Linked DNA regions of Homo sapiens: all the other regions are linked to region 3. The links are contacts of gene promoters, found by promoter capture Hi-C in blood cells and fetal thymus (Javierre and others, 2016). All regions are on one chromosome and are shown on one strand. Each heading gives the region's core, a stretch centred on a gene start or on the middle of the fragment in contact. The rest is flanking DNA. Distances are from core to core; before and after follow the strand shown. Region 1 has its middle 11 kb from the start of LILRB5. Region 2 has its middle 7.1 kb from the start of MIR4752. Region 3 holds the start of TMC4 (transmembrane channel like 4).

Region 1 (4,408 bases), core at 1,004-3,503, 96 kb after region 3:
CCTGCTTGCATTGGGCCTGCTGACCCCACAGCTGGATGGATTCCACTGCATCAATTCTGTACTCCACCTGGTGCCTCCCCCAGCTGTGGACTGCTCTTGCTTGCTTCTCAGGGATAGGCTCATGGTAGGGAGTATAAATTTCTCCTGTCCTCACCCAGCCTCAGTCTTGGACAATTTCTATATGAGTGGGCCTTGAGGGTGGAGCTTGCTCAGTGTTTGTGTCCTTCTTCCCCTTGGCAGCTGGATTGTACTTGGTAGCTTTGGTTGACTTGGGCAGGAATTTCCTGTCCCTTCCCTGACATTTGTATATCTGGGATTATGGTTTCAGGAATTTTCTGCAGTACTCCTAGGGATAGAGGGACTTTTAAATCTACCTTCTTATATCCACAATGGGTTTTTACCTGGGGCCTGAGATTGGCTGGTTTTTCTGAACCTCTCTCAATGACTTCAGTCTTTTTCTACACATGGGAGAAGTATCTGGGCAGGGGGTGAGATTTCAGGCCACACACTGTGGAAGGTAATCATGTCTGATCACAAATTTTGGGTCTCCACCTTACTTCCAATCTATGTTGTGAATGCCCAGTTGAGACCCACGGAAAAGAGCTCATGGGTGAGTGTGAAGTGCTTCTCTGTCTTAAGTTCCCAGAGATCCTTGCCTCTTGGAGGCCAGCAAACACTAACTCTTGAGGAATTCATGACAATATCATCTGATTCCTCCTTCCCAGCTTGTATGGCAGTCTCCCACCCTCATGTGTTCTGCCTTTGTAGAGCCTGTCATGGCATCCTACTCCTCCTTGGAATTCAGGTTACTCAGTTGCTCCCAGAGCTCGGATTTCTGATGGTCTCAGGTGAAATCTACATTATGGAGTTGATCTGAGTTTTACTCATGGTTAGGATTGCAGAGAAGCTCTTTTTTTGGAGTGGGGGAGGGAGGGGGAGGGATGGAGTTTCGCTTTTGTTGCCCAGGCTGGAGTGCAATGGCGTGTTCTTGGCTCACTACAACCTCTGCCTCCTGGGTTCAAGTGATTCTCCTGCCTCAGCCTCCCCAGTAGCTGGGATTACGGGCATGTGCCACCATGCCCAGCTTTTTTTTTGTATTTTTAGTAGAGAGAGGGTTTCACTATGTTTTCCAGGCTCGTCTCAAACTCCTGACCTCAGGCAATCCACCCACCTCAGCCTCCCAAAATGCTGGGATTACAGGTGTGAGCCACCGCACCCAGCTAGTGAAACTCTTTCCAGCTCCCCAAACCCTGGGCAGAAGCCGGGATATGAATTATTTATTTACTTACTGAGTTATGTGACATAACTCACACCATATGAAATGCACCATTTTTTAGTGTACAAATAAATGGATTTTAGTGTCTTCACTATGCTGTGCAATCACCATCCCTACCTCATCCCACAGCATTTCCATCACCTCAGAAAGAACCCCCAAGTAGTCAGTCCTAGTTCTTCCCTTCCCTCAGCCTTAAGAAATCACTAGTCTACTCTCAGTTTCTATGGCTTTGTCTATTCTGGATATTTCATGTGCATAAAATCACACCAAATACACGTCCTTTTGTAGCTGTTGATGGAAAAGAAGTGGTTACCATGAAGGAACTGAAGTTTTCCAAAGACAAAATTATAATGTGGCCTGACAGAAGAAGTACAGAAATTGATAACAAAAACAAATCCATCACAACTTATCATGAATCTGGTCATGCCATTATTGCATATTACACAAAAGATGAAATGTCTATCAACAAAGCTACAATCATGCCACAGGGGCCAACATTTGGACCTGTGTCCCCATTACCTGGTGATGACAGATGGAATGAAACCAGAGCCCAGCTGCTTGCACAAATGGACATTAGTATGGGAGCAAGAGTGGCAGAGGAGCTTATATTTGGAATTGACCATATTACAACAGGTGCTTCCAGTGATTTTGCTAATGCCACTAAAATGGCAAAGCAGATGGTTATCAAATTTGGAATTAGCGAAAAGCTTGGAGTTATGACCTACAGTGACACAGGGAAACTAAGTCCAGAAACTCAATCTGCTATTGAACATGAAATAAGAACCATTCTAAGGGACTCATATAAATGAGCAAAACTTATTCAAAATTCAAATAATTGTATGACATGGTTATAACAAAACACCTTCCTACCCCATCCATAGTATTTATTTAGATGAACAAATTTTCTCAGTCCTGTATCTATACAAATGAAAACTAGATATAGTATTGACGTTTAGCTCTGTTTCAGTCTAGGAATAAGTAATATTTACCAGTGGACTTGTGAACAATTAATAACCATAATCAAGAAGTATTTTTAAAACATTTAGCATCTTAAATTTATATAGTAGAGATGGATAGGGTGATCCATGAAAGATGTTTAATTATATAATTATTACATTTCGCTAAAAACTTGTTGGTGATGTTGAATGGAAAATCAAGTCAAAAATAAAGAAGAATGATGCAAACCTTAAAAAAAATGAGCAAAACTTATCTTGAAAAGTCATGCAGAGGAGCATAAGAATCTAGCAGAAGCTTTATTGACCTATGAGACTTTAGGTGCCAAAGAGATTCAAATTGTTCTTCAGGGGAAAAAGTTGGAAGTGAGATGAGAACTCTCTTGATGTGGATGCTTTGCTGGTTTTATTGCAAGAATATAAGTAGCATTGCAGTAGTCTCCTTTTGCAATGCTTTCTCCTCATTATTGACGTTGTGTAATTTAAGGGTGTGAAACATTTTGTCAATATTTTGTCACGTTTACCCAATTTTGGTTATTCTCATTATGACACCCATTGCAAATCAGCATCCCATGGCAAATATATTTTTAAAACTAAAGAACTATCAGGATTAAAGACAGCTCATTTGGGAAATGTCAATTAGTTATGAAGTTGAAAGTAACTAATGATTTTATGGTTGGTTACTCTACTAGAGGTGAATAAAACTTCAGCCTTTAGCCTTCTATATACATCAGTGGAAACTTAATTAAGATGCATTAATTATGTTCCAGATTGACCATCAATAAAATGTTTTTAAATCTAAATGTAGAGAATTGTAAGCATACAGTTGCAACCCGAATTTAAATGATTATAACCTTTTGGCATGGTGTGATGGCTCACGCCTCTAATCCCAGCACTTTGGGAGGCTGAGGCGAGTGGAAGGCTTGAGTCTAGGAGTTCGAGACCAGCCTGGCCTACACGGCGAAACCCTGTCTCTACTAAAATTAAAAAAAATAGCCTCCTGTGGTGGTGCACAACTGTAATCCCAGCTACTCAGAAGGCTGAGGCACAAAAATTTGCTTGAACTGGTTGCAGTGAGCCAAGATCTCACAACTCCACTCTAGCCTGGGCGACAGAGTGAAACTTTGTCTCAGTAAATAAATAAATAAATAAATAATTGTAACCTTTTAAAAATAAAAAAACCCAAACAAATATATGTCCTTTTTTTGTCATTATTCATGATAGCTAAATAGTGAAAACAACCCAAATGTCCATCAATTGGTGAATGCATAAACCAAATGTGATATAGGCATAGAATGGAATATTCTTCAACAGTAGAAAGGAACAAAGACCAATTACATGCTCTAGCGTGCAGAGACCACGAAAACATTTTGCTATGTGCAATTGGATTTTTGCCATTTTGTTGTTGTTTTTAATGTAGTACATTTATTTTAATTTATTATTTTTTTAAAAAAAATTCAATAGCTTTTGGGGAACAGGTGGTGTTTGGTTACGTGGATAAGCTCTTTAGTGGTGATTTTTGAGATTTTGGTGCATTCATCACCCGAGCAGTGTACACTGCACCCAATGTGTAGTCTTTTATCGCTCATCCCCCTCCCATTGTTCCCTGTGAGTCCCCAGATTCCATTATATCCTTCTTATGCCTTTGCATCCTCATAGTTTAGCTCCCACTTATGAGACCATATGATGTTTGGTTTTCCATTTCTGAATTACTTCACTTGGAATAATGGTCTCCAACTGCATCTAGGTTGCTGCGAATGCCATTATTTTGTCCCTTTTTGTGGCTGAGTAGTATTCCGTGCTGTGTGTGTGTATATACACACATACACATACATGTTTTTCATATGTTTGTGGACCGTTCGTATATCTTCTTTTGAGAGTTGTCACAAAGGGAATTGGATTTGGAGGGAACAATTTTATGGCCATTTTTCAGTATAATCATCGGGTGAAGACAGTGTCTGTTCGGCCAGTGTCGCTTTAATCCATTACCTGTAGCCAGGAAGGGAGACGTTTATCGCAGAGATAGGCACCAACCTGGAATGCTTTCCTCAAAGGCGATTAACTGTAGTGTGAACCCGAAATTTCACCGCAGTTTGGTCCTGATTTGGCACAAGATATGCTTTATCCACTGATGTGAAATGTCCAGGTGTTTTTTTGTACGGTTTTGTTGCTGAAAGAC
Region 2 (4,700 bases), core at 527-3,026, 120 kb after region 3:
ACCAGGTCCACATCCACCTGCTTGTGCCGAGCGTGGCTCTTACCCTTAAGCACCAGCTCCTGGCCTGCAATCTGAGCTGCACAGCCCAATGCAAACCCTGCTGCAGAAGCTCCCAAAGCCATGGGAAAAGCCAAAAGACCCTTCCCAACATGCTCTACAGTCACCCTCCCTGCGGGGCTGGGGGAAAATGTGCAAAAGAAATCCCATCCAAACGAAAATAAATTCGAAGAGAGTAAGTGGAGGCCTCTCCAGATGAGAAGGAATCAGTGTAAGGATTCTGACGCCGTGAAAAATCTGAATATTGTGGCACCACCAAAGGATCGCACTGGCTCGCTAGTGATGGATGCTGAAAACAATGGAAACTCTGAAAGGACAGATAAAGAATGAGACTGACACAAAAACATTACAAAGAATCAATGAAAGAAAACGTTGGTTTTTTGAAAGTATAAATAAAATTGAGAGATGGCTGACTACACTAACCAAAAAAAGGAGATTTAAATAAGCACAATCAGAAATGATAAAGTTGACATTACAACCAACACCACAGAGATACAAAAGATCATCAGAGACTACTATGAACACCTTTATGCACATAAACTAGAAAACCTGGAGAAAATAGATGAATTCCTAGACACACACAACTTCCCAAGATTGCACAGGCAAAAAATAGAAACTCTAAACAGACCGATAACAACCAATGAAAAAGGATCAGTACTAAAAATCTTCCAGCAAAAAAGTCCAGGAACAGATGGATTCGCAGTTGAACTTAGCTGTATGTACGAAGGAGGGCTGGTACCAATCATACTGAAAGTATTCCAAAAATCAAGGAAGTGGGATTCTTTGCCAGCTCATTTTACAAAATCAGTATCATCCTGATAGCAAAATCAGACAAGGATCCAACAGAAAAATAAAACTACAGGCCAAGAAATCTGAGGAACACAGATGCAAAAATCCTCAAGAAAATACTAGCAAACGGAATCTAACAGTGTATCAAAAACATAATTCATCATGATCAAGTTGGCTTGATTCCAGGGAAGAAAGGATGGTTCAATATATGCAAGTCAATAAAAGTGACTCATGACATGAACTAAGAACAAAAAGCATATGATCATCTCTATAGATGCAGATAAAGCTTTCAAGAAAGTCCAACATCGCTTCGTGATAAAATCCCTCAACAGGCTAGGCATGAAAGAAACATACCGCAAAATACCAACACCCCCTGCGTGACAAACCCACAGCCAACATCAAATTGAATGGGGAGAAGTGAAAACATTTTCCCAGGAAAATGAGAATGGGATCCTCCCTAGCCCCTGGGGTCTCCTACTGGACCAGGGCCTATCTGTGGGGCAGGGTCCCTCTCATGCTAGAATCTCCCTTTCCCCTCGTCAAATCTCAGTGAAGTGGACCATGGCCATGGGAGTGACAGTCATGGCACAGAGAGGCAGGGCTCTCCTGTAGCAGGACGAGCCGCAGACAAAACTCCTCAGACACCGGATTAAAGAAGGAAGAGGTTTTTATTCAGCTGGGAGCGTGGGCAGACTCGCGTCTTAAGAGCCGAACTCCCCGAAAAAGAAATTCTTGGCCTTTTTAAAGGCTTATAACTTTAAGGGGTCCACGTGAAAGGGTCGTGATACATCAAGCAAGCGTGGGAAACATGACTGTGGGGGGCTATATGCATCAGCTAACAGAACAAAAAGTTTTACAGTGCTTTTTTCATGCAGTGTCTGGAATTTACAGATAACACCAGTAGTTTAGGTCAGGGGTTGATGTTATTATTATTACTTTTTTTAACTCCTACGGCCGGGTGGTGGTGCCAAGGTTGTCTGGCTATTTATCTTACTTTTGTATTTTTCCAACTTTTGGCTTTTTCTCTCTTCCTGTTTTGTGAACTAGGCAAGGTGGGGGGAGGAGGGCAGCAGGAGTAGTAGTGGTCTCCTTCCTTACTCCCACTTACAGGATTTTCCCACCAGCATCTCCATGGGTGGTGAGCTGTCCCGGACCCCGCTGGCTCATGTTTTCCCAGGACTTGGCCTTTCTCGAATGCTTTATCTGCATCGCTTGAGATTATCACATGCTTTTTGTTCTTAGTTTATGTCGTGAGTCACCTTTATTGACTTGCATATATTGAACCATCCTTTGAGACAGGCACCAGGCTTTCTGCTGATATTTCAGACACGCATGGCATCTCTCCTGATCTCCTTTCACTGTCTGCCTGACATGTCCTCGTCTCATTGAGGGCCGGGACGTAGCTGCAAATGGACGTGGTGCCTTCCTGAGTTGGTCCCTTCCAGGTGAAGGCAACGGAGGGTTCTTCCTTCCTCTCAGAGACTCCTCGTGGGGTTTCCCTCTCTCCTTCAGCTCACCCATAAACACACCCTTGTGGGGAACCTACCATGGCCAGTCTTCTCACCAGTCCTGGGGAAGCTTCAGGGAAGATGCAAATTCAGGCTGCGGGGCAGACTCACATCAGCAGAGACTCATCTCGCATCTTGCTGTGCAGTTCCAGTTGAGCTTTATTGTGGCGATGAACAGAAAAGGGAAATACATGGAGACAAGGGAAGGAATCATGACTCTTTCCCCAGAACTGGAGTGTGGGTTTTCTTTATGCAAAAACGTTCCCTTCACGAACTTCTCATTCACTCATCGCAACAGCATCTGCCCCCGTCTCCCTGGAAACAACATTGACCTGACTCTGCCTTCTTGGTGCCCCTGTCTTCTTTCAAACACTCCTGTTCCCATCCTGTGCTCCTGAGTTCAAGGTTCTGGGACAATACGTGGGGTTAGCACTCTGCTTTGAGGGGAAATCTTGTCTTTATTTAAATATTCATGTGTCACCCCCTGCCTGTGTGACCTTGGGCAGTAACCTCCCATTTCTGAGCCTCGGTTTCCTCATTTGGAGCCTGTGATGAACCCCATTTATCACAGGGGAGCTGGGTCATTGGAGCCTGGGGACTGCAGGGGGCTCAGCCATGGGTAATTTCCAGAGCAGGTGAAGACAGGAGGGGTGGGGGCATGAAGGGATGCTGGCGCCCACCATCAAGGCCTGAGATTGATGTTTCCACTAAGGAGAGCCCCTTTGTTCCTGCCCTTGAGAGATGCTTCTCATAATATTTCATCAACACCCCCGTTATCACAGTCATGTCCAGAAAATGAGAAATGAAAGCTTGTCAGAAGGAGAAGCGCCTGCATTAAAGAGAAAATTAAAACTGACAGAGCATTTGTGTCTGGTGCCATTGGGGTCTTCAGGGAGGAAGTAATTAAGTCACTAGTGTGCATACATTTAAGCATGAAATGCAAATCTTTTTTTTTTTTTTTTCGAGACAGAGTCTCACTCTGTCGCCCAGGCTGGAGTGCAGTGGCACAATCTCAGCTCACCGCAACCTCCACCTCCCGCGTTCAAACGATTCTCCTGTCTCAGCCTCCCGAGTAGCTGGCACTACAAGCACGCACCACCACACCCGGCTAATTTTTGTATTTTTAGTAAAGATGGGGCTTCACCACGTTGGCCAGGCTGGTCTCAAACTCCTGCCCTCACCTGATCCGCCTGCCTCCGCCTCCCAAAGTGCTGGGATTACAGGGGTGGGCCACCGCGCCTGGCCAAAATGCAAATCTTGACCTCTCATGATAAACTGAAAAATAGGAGTAAATTAAAAAATACATATGCTAGACTGAATTATGTAATTTAAAATGCATTTTTGTGTTTTGTGATTTTCAACTCAACATGTCAATAGCATTGCTTCTCAGTGGGACTGGACTTCCCGATAGTAAAAAGATAAGGGAAGGAGATGCTAAGAGAGTACTCTCAGGGGACTAACTGCAAGTGAGGAATTCTATACTTACTCAGGTTAATACCTGAAAGGTAAAGGGGTCAGCAGGGGACCAATTCCTAAACAGAAGAAGGCTCAGGGCAAGACGGACCTGTGAAGCTGTCTGGTTGGGCTTCCCCTTCGTGAGGGCTGAGGAGGGATTGGAGGGTGGATCTCTCAAATCATCAGATGTGCTTTCTCTTCCAGGTGTTATACTTACCCTTTAACTAATACAGAAATGTTTTCATCTATTTTGATAGAGAGAGTGGGAGGAAAAAGAAGGCATTTTCTGAGCTGCAAGTTACTAGATATTACTGTTTTCATGCTCAGTGAAGGCAATTTTAAATGATATCATCCAGTTGGAAGATCAATGAATCCGGCCGGGCGCGGTGGCTCACGCCTGTAATCCCAGCACTTTGGGAGGCCGAGGAGGGCGGATCACGAGGTCAGGAGATCGAGACCATCCTGGCTAACACGGTGAAACCCCCGTCTCTACTAAAAATACAAAAAAATTAGCTGGGCGTGGTGGTGGGCGCCTATAGTCCCAGCTACTCGGGAGGCTGAGGCAGGAGAATGGTGTGAACCTGGGAGGCGGAGCTTGCAGTGAGCGCAGATTGTGCCACTGCACTCCAGCCTGGGCGACAGAGCAAGACTCCGTCTCAAAAAAAAAAAAAAAAAAGAATCAATGAATCCAAAATGTAGAATATGAGATGCCACAGTGATGTAAGTGAGAAACAGGCAAGTATTTGAAAATCACACACAGACATGCCCACATGAATGCAACCACACACGGGCACACATGTATGAGTCAGTGTGCATGTACACATGTGAGTACTCAGAGTTCAGCTACAGTGGAATTAGAACGTGTCTTCTCTAAAGGCAAGGATAAATGAA
Region 3 (4,160 bases), core at 103-2,602:
CAGGGTATGGGAGAAGGGCCCGGTCCGGGCTGTGCGGGTCCCAGCTGGAGGTGGGGCCTCACCTGTGTGCCCGTCTGGCCTGCATGGGCCAGGGCAGTTCCCGGGAAGGGTGAGGGTCCTGCAGCTCTGTCTGGGTGACTTCTGTGAAGGCCTTTCTGCTCCTTCCTCCATCCTCCTCCTCCTCCTCCAGCGCCCCCCAAGGCAGCACCCCAGGGTCTCGGTACCGAAGGGTGGCAGCACTGGGCAGCTCGTTCAGCACAGAAGACAGCGATGGGCCTGGGGAGGAGCAGGGGGCTGGGAAGACCCGGGAGTCTGGGCCCTAATTCCTCCTCCCTCAGACCAGGAAACCAGGTCCCCGGCCCCTCCTCCCTCAGACCCAGGAGTCCAGGCCCCCGGCTCCTCCTCCCTCAGACCCAGGAGTCCAGGCCCCCGGCTCCTCCTCCCTCAGACCCAGGAGTCCAGGCCCCCGGCTCCTCCTCCCTCAGACCCAGGAGTCCAGGCCCCCGGCTCCTCCTCCCTCAGACCCAGGAGTCCAGGCCCCCGGCTCCTCCTCCCTCAGACCCAGGAGTCCAGGCCCCCGGCTCCTCCTCCCTCAGACCCAGGAGAACAGGCCCCCGGCGCCTCCTCCCTCAGACCCAGGAGTCCAGGCCCCCGGCTCCTCCTCCCTCAGACCCAGGAGAACAGGCCCCCGGCCCCTCCTCCCTCAGACCCAGGAGTCCAGGCCCCCGGCTCCTCCTCCCTCAGACATAGGAATCCAGGCACCCAGCCCCTCCTCCCTCAGACCAGGAAACCAGGTTCCCAGCCCCTCCTCCCTCAGGCCCAGGAGTCCGGGTGCCAGCCTCTACTTCCCCTGGACCCAGGGGTCCACAGCCCTCAACTCCATCCCCAAGCGTGGAACCCTCCTACTCCAGGGCAGTGGAGTCCAGGCTTTAACTTCCTTTTCCCTCTAGCTCAGGAGTGTGGGAACCCAGCCTCTCCTATTCCCAAGACACCCAAACTCCCAGCCCTTAGCCCTCCCCTCCTCCCAGACTAGCCTGGTTCTCCAGGCTCCTCCTCCTCAGACCCTGGAGTTCCAGCCTCCAGTTCCCTTCTCCCCCATAATATCAGGAAGTGGAACCTTCTCTCTTTAGCCCTCAGACTCAGGAGGCCAGGCCTCCCCTTTCCTCCTCCAGCAGGACTCCCACCTAGCCTGAAGGTCGGATGGATCTGAGCTTCTCCTGGCATTCCCTACCTCCTCTGGCCTCCCGGGGGGCCAGCCACTCCCTAGAGGAGCCCCAGGCTTCTGATTCCAAGGTCGGGTTTTCTTCCATGGCCCCAGGCTGGGCTGTCTCTAGTGGCCACCAGGCAGACACTGCCCCAGGTAAGGGAGGGGCCAGGGGCAGGTGTGTACCTGGCCAGCAGGTGGCCCGGAGGGAGTAAGGTACACTTCCTGTGGTTTCTCAGGGCCGCTGATGCGAAAGGTCTCCTGGGAGCTGAAGTCCCCGTGGTGCCCCGGGCCTCACAGTTTGGTTCCTGGGCTGGGCGGGGGGGCTGTACCTCACCCTGGGACTTGGTGGACTAAGTCCTTCCCACCGTTTATCACCCAGATACCTGCACGGACACGATGCCTTTGTGCAACACTTTATTGGGAAAGATTTACACACGGTGACCTGTCATAGGCCAAGCGATGAGAAGAGGGCGCCAGGAGTGCTGGGGTCCCGAGGTGGCTCAGATGGAAGCCATGGGACGGCCGTCCCCAGGCCCGCGCACCCGCACCTCAGTTTCCCCTTTGTGAAATGGGAAGCTTATGCTTCCTTCCAAGTCTGCAATATTGGTGCGATGAGCTAAAAGTGGAGCGAAAGACACAAGGAAGAGGCTTCCCACTCCCAGGACCTGCCCCCAAGCTCCGACCCCACATTGTGGATGCAAAGAAAGGGAATTTGCCCAAAACCCACTGCCCAGGGGCCCCTTCCGTTTTGGGGAAGTGCAGTGCTCTCTGGATACCCAGAAGCTGGAGCAGGGGCCAGTGACTCTTGTCTGGACAATACTTTGATTTTGTAGGAGTGGAGGTGGCCTCTGGGCAGAGGGCAGGGAGGACACCCCCGGGTCTGCTTCAGTTGCAGGCAGGGTATTTAGCTGGGGAAGAGGAAATTCTCTCCAGGACCCTCTCCAAGGTAAGGACTCTTTCTGGGGAGGAGACAGCAGCCTGGTTCACAGAATTCCCGGGACCAGCTGGCAGAGGGAGCGTCGTGACAGCTTACTCCTCCCGGAGCTTCTCCGGGGCAAGGCTGGTGGGCTGGGATGCTGCCTTCCGCCGGCTGGGGCTGCCCCCACCTAAAGCCAGCCCCAGCCCCAGGGCTGCCAGGGCCAGGAAGTGGATACAGAAGTAGATGGAGGCCCAGTACCGAAGGGTGTCGGCCAAGGAGAGCAGCACGAAGCCCATGCACATGTAGTCATAGGCGCGCATCTTCAGGAACCAGTGCACCCAGTCCCAGGCCTTCTGGCCCCCTGGGCTCAGCCGCCCCCGCAGGGCTGACTCCAGCCGGCCCTCGGCAGCCAGGCACAGCGGGATGGTCAGGAAGCTCAGGTAGTAGCCCGGGTGGAGGCCGTGCCAGTAGGCGCTCAGCAGCATGGTCCAGGCGCTCCTGAGGAGGAGGCTGGGAGTCAGGACCTACGAGTCCAGGTCCCCAGTGCCCACTGCCCCCAGATCCAGGAGTCCAGGACCCCAGCCCCTCCTCCCTCAGACCGAGAAGTGCAGGCCCAGCCCCTCCTCCCTCAGACCCAGGAGTCCAGACCCCACCCCTTCCTCCCTCAGACCCAGGAGATCAGGCCCCAGTCCCTCCTCCCTCAGACCCAGGAGACCAGACCCCACCTCCCTCCTCCCTCAGATCCAGGAGTCCAGACCCCACTTCCCTCCTCCCTCAGATCCAGGAGACCAGACCCCACCTCCCTCCTCCCTCAGATCCAGGAGACCAGGCCCCAGGCCCTCCCCACTCAGACCCATGACCCTAGCTCCGGAAGGCGGAGGAGGCTACAGGCCTCTGTCTCCTTCAGGGATCCAGGAGCTCGCAGCCTTCCATACACACTCAGTCCTATCAAGACCCTCTTCTTCTTTAAAGATTTAACATTTTATATTCCACTGCCCTTCCTCTCCCAGGACCAACAAGTCTTAATTCTTCAGCCCAGTGGTTTTTTTTTTTTTTTTTTGAGACAGAGTCTCGCTCTGTCGCCCAGGCTAGAGTGCAGTGGCGCGATCTTGGCTCACTGCAAGCTCCGCCTCCCAGGTTCACGCCATTCTCCTGCCTCAGCCTCCCGAGTAGCTGGGACTACAGGCGCCTGCCACCACGCCCGGCTAATTTTCTTTTCTATTTTTAGTAGAGACGGGGTTTCACCGTGTTAGCCAGGATGGTCTCGATCTCCTGACCTCGTGATCTGCCCGCCTTGGCCTCCCAAAGTGCTGGGATCACAGGTGTCAGACACCACACCCGGGCAGCCCGGTGGTTCTTAACCTGGGGTCCCAGGTCTGGCATCAGCATCACCTGAGAACTTGTGAGACATACAAATCCTTGTCCCCACCCCTTTTGCACCAGAAGCCCTGGGGGTGGGGCCCAGGAGAAGTCTTCCAAGTTAACAAGTCCTCCAGTGACTCTGATGCCTGTTAACATTTGACAACTCCTGCCTGGCTCATGAAGATCCAGAAGTCCCTGGCCTGTGGTCCTTCCTTATTCTGGGCCCAGGAGATATGTTCCTCTTCCTCCAAGGCCCAGCACCATCTTTCCTCACTCTTTTTATTTTTTTGGAGACAGAGTCTCGCTCTGTTGCCACACGACAAGGCTCACTGCAGCCTCTGCCTCTTGGATTCAAGCGATTCTTATGCCTCAGCCTCCCAAGTAGCTGGGATTACAGGCAAGCGCCACCAAACTCAGCTAATTTCTGTATTTTTTGTTGTTGTTGTTCAGACGGAGTCTCGCTCTGCCGCCCATGCTGGAGTGCAGTGGTGCAATCTCGGCTCACTGCAACCTCTGCCTCCTGGGTTCAAGTGATTCTCCTGCCTCAGCCTCCCGAGCAGCTGGGACTACAGGTGCCCACCACCATGCCAGGCTAATTTTTGTATTTCTGGTAAAGACGGGGTTTCACCATGTTGGCCAGGATGCTCTCAATCTCTTGACCTTGTGATCCAC

What was found. Contacts are between HindIII fragments. The CHiCAGO score rates a contact against its expected background, and 5 or more counts as called.
Region 1: a contact is called between a fragment that was not itself captured here and the fragment with the promoter of TMC4 in region 3, in 1 of 17 cell types (neutrophils). The highest score is 5.5, in neutrophils.
Region 2: a contact is called between a fragment that was not itself captured here and the fragment with the promoter of TMC4 in region 3, in 1 of 17 cell types (neutrophils). The highest score is 5.5, in neutrophils.

The regions. Positions count from the first base shown.
Region 1 is chr19:54,266,442-54,270,849 of GRCh38, forward strand. It overlaps the pseudogene LOC100420187. Among named protein-coding and RNA genes, the nearest start is that of LILRB5, 11 kb to the left of the region's middle. The HindIII fragment of the contact is 544 bases long and covers 1,982-2,525 here.
Region 2 is chr19:54,286,850-54,291,549 of GRCh38, forward strand. No RefSeq gene overlaps it. Among named protein-coding and RNA genes, the nearest start is that of MIR4752, 7.1 kb to the left of the region's middle. The HindIII fragment of the contact is 1,292 bases long and covers 1,131-2,422 here.
Region 3 is chr19:54,171,808-54,175,967 of GRCh38, forward strand. TMC4 (transmembrane channel like 4) reads right to left here and starts at 1,353. Exons shown (of 15, transcript NM_144686.4): 1 at 1,232-1,353; 2 at 63-276. The coding sequence starts at 1,310. MBOAT7 (membrane bound acylglycerophosphatidylinositol O-acyltransferase MBOAT7) reads right to left here. Exons shown (of 8, transcript NM_024298.5): 8 at 1,608-2,624. The coding sequence ends at 2,237. RefSeq lists enhancers at 1,476-2,292, 2,293-3,108. The HindIII fragment of the contact is 9,651 bases long and covers 1-1,781 here.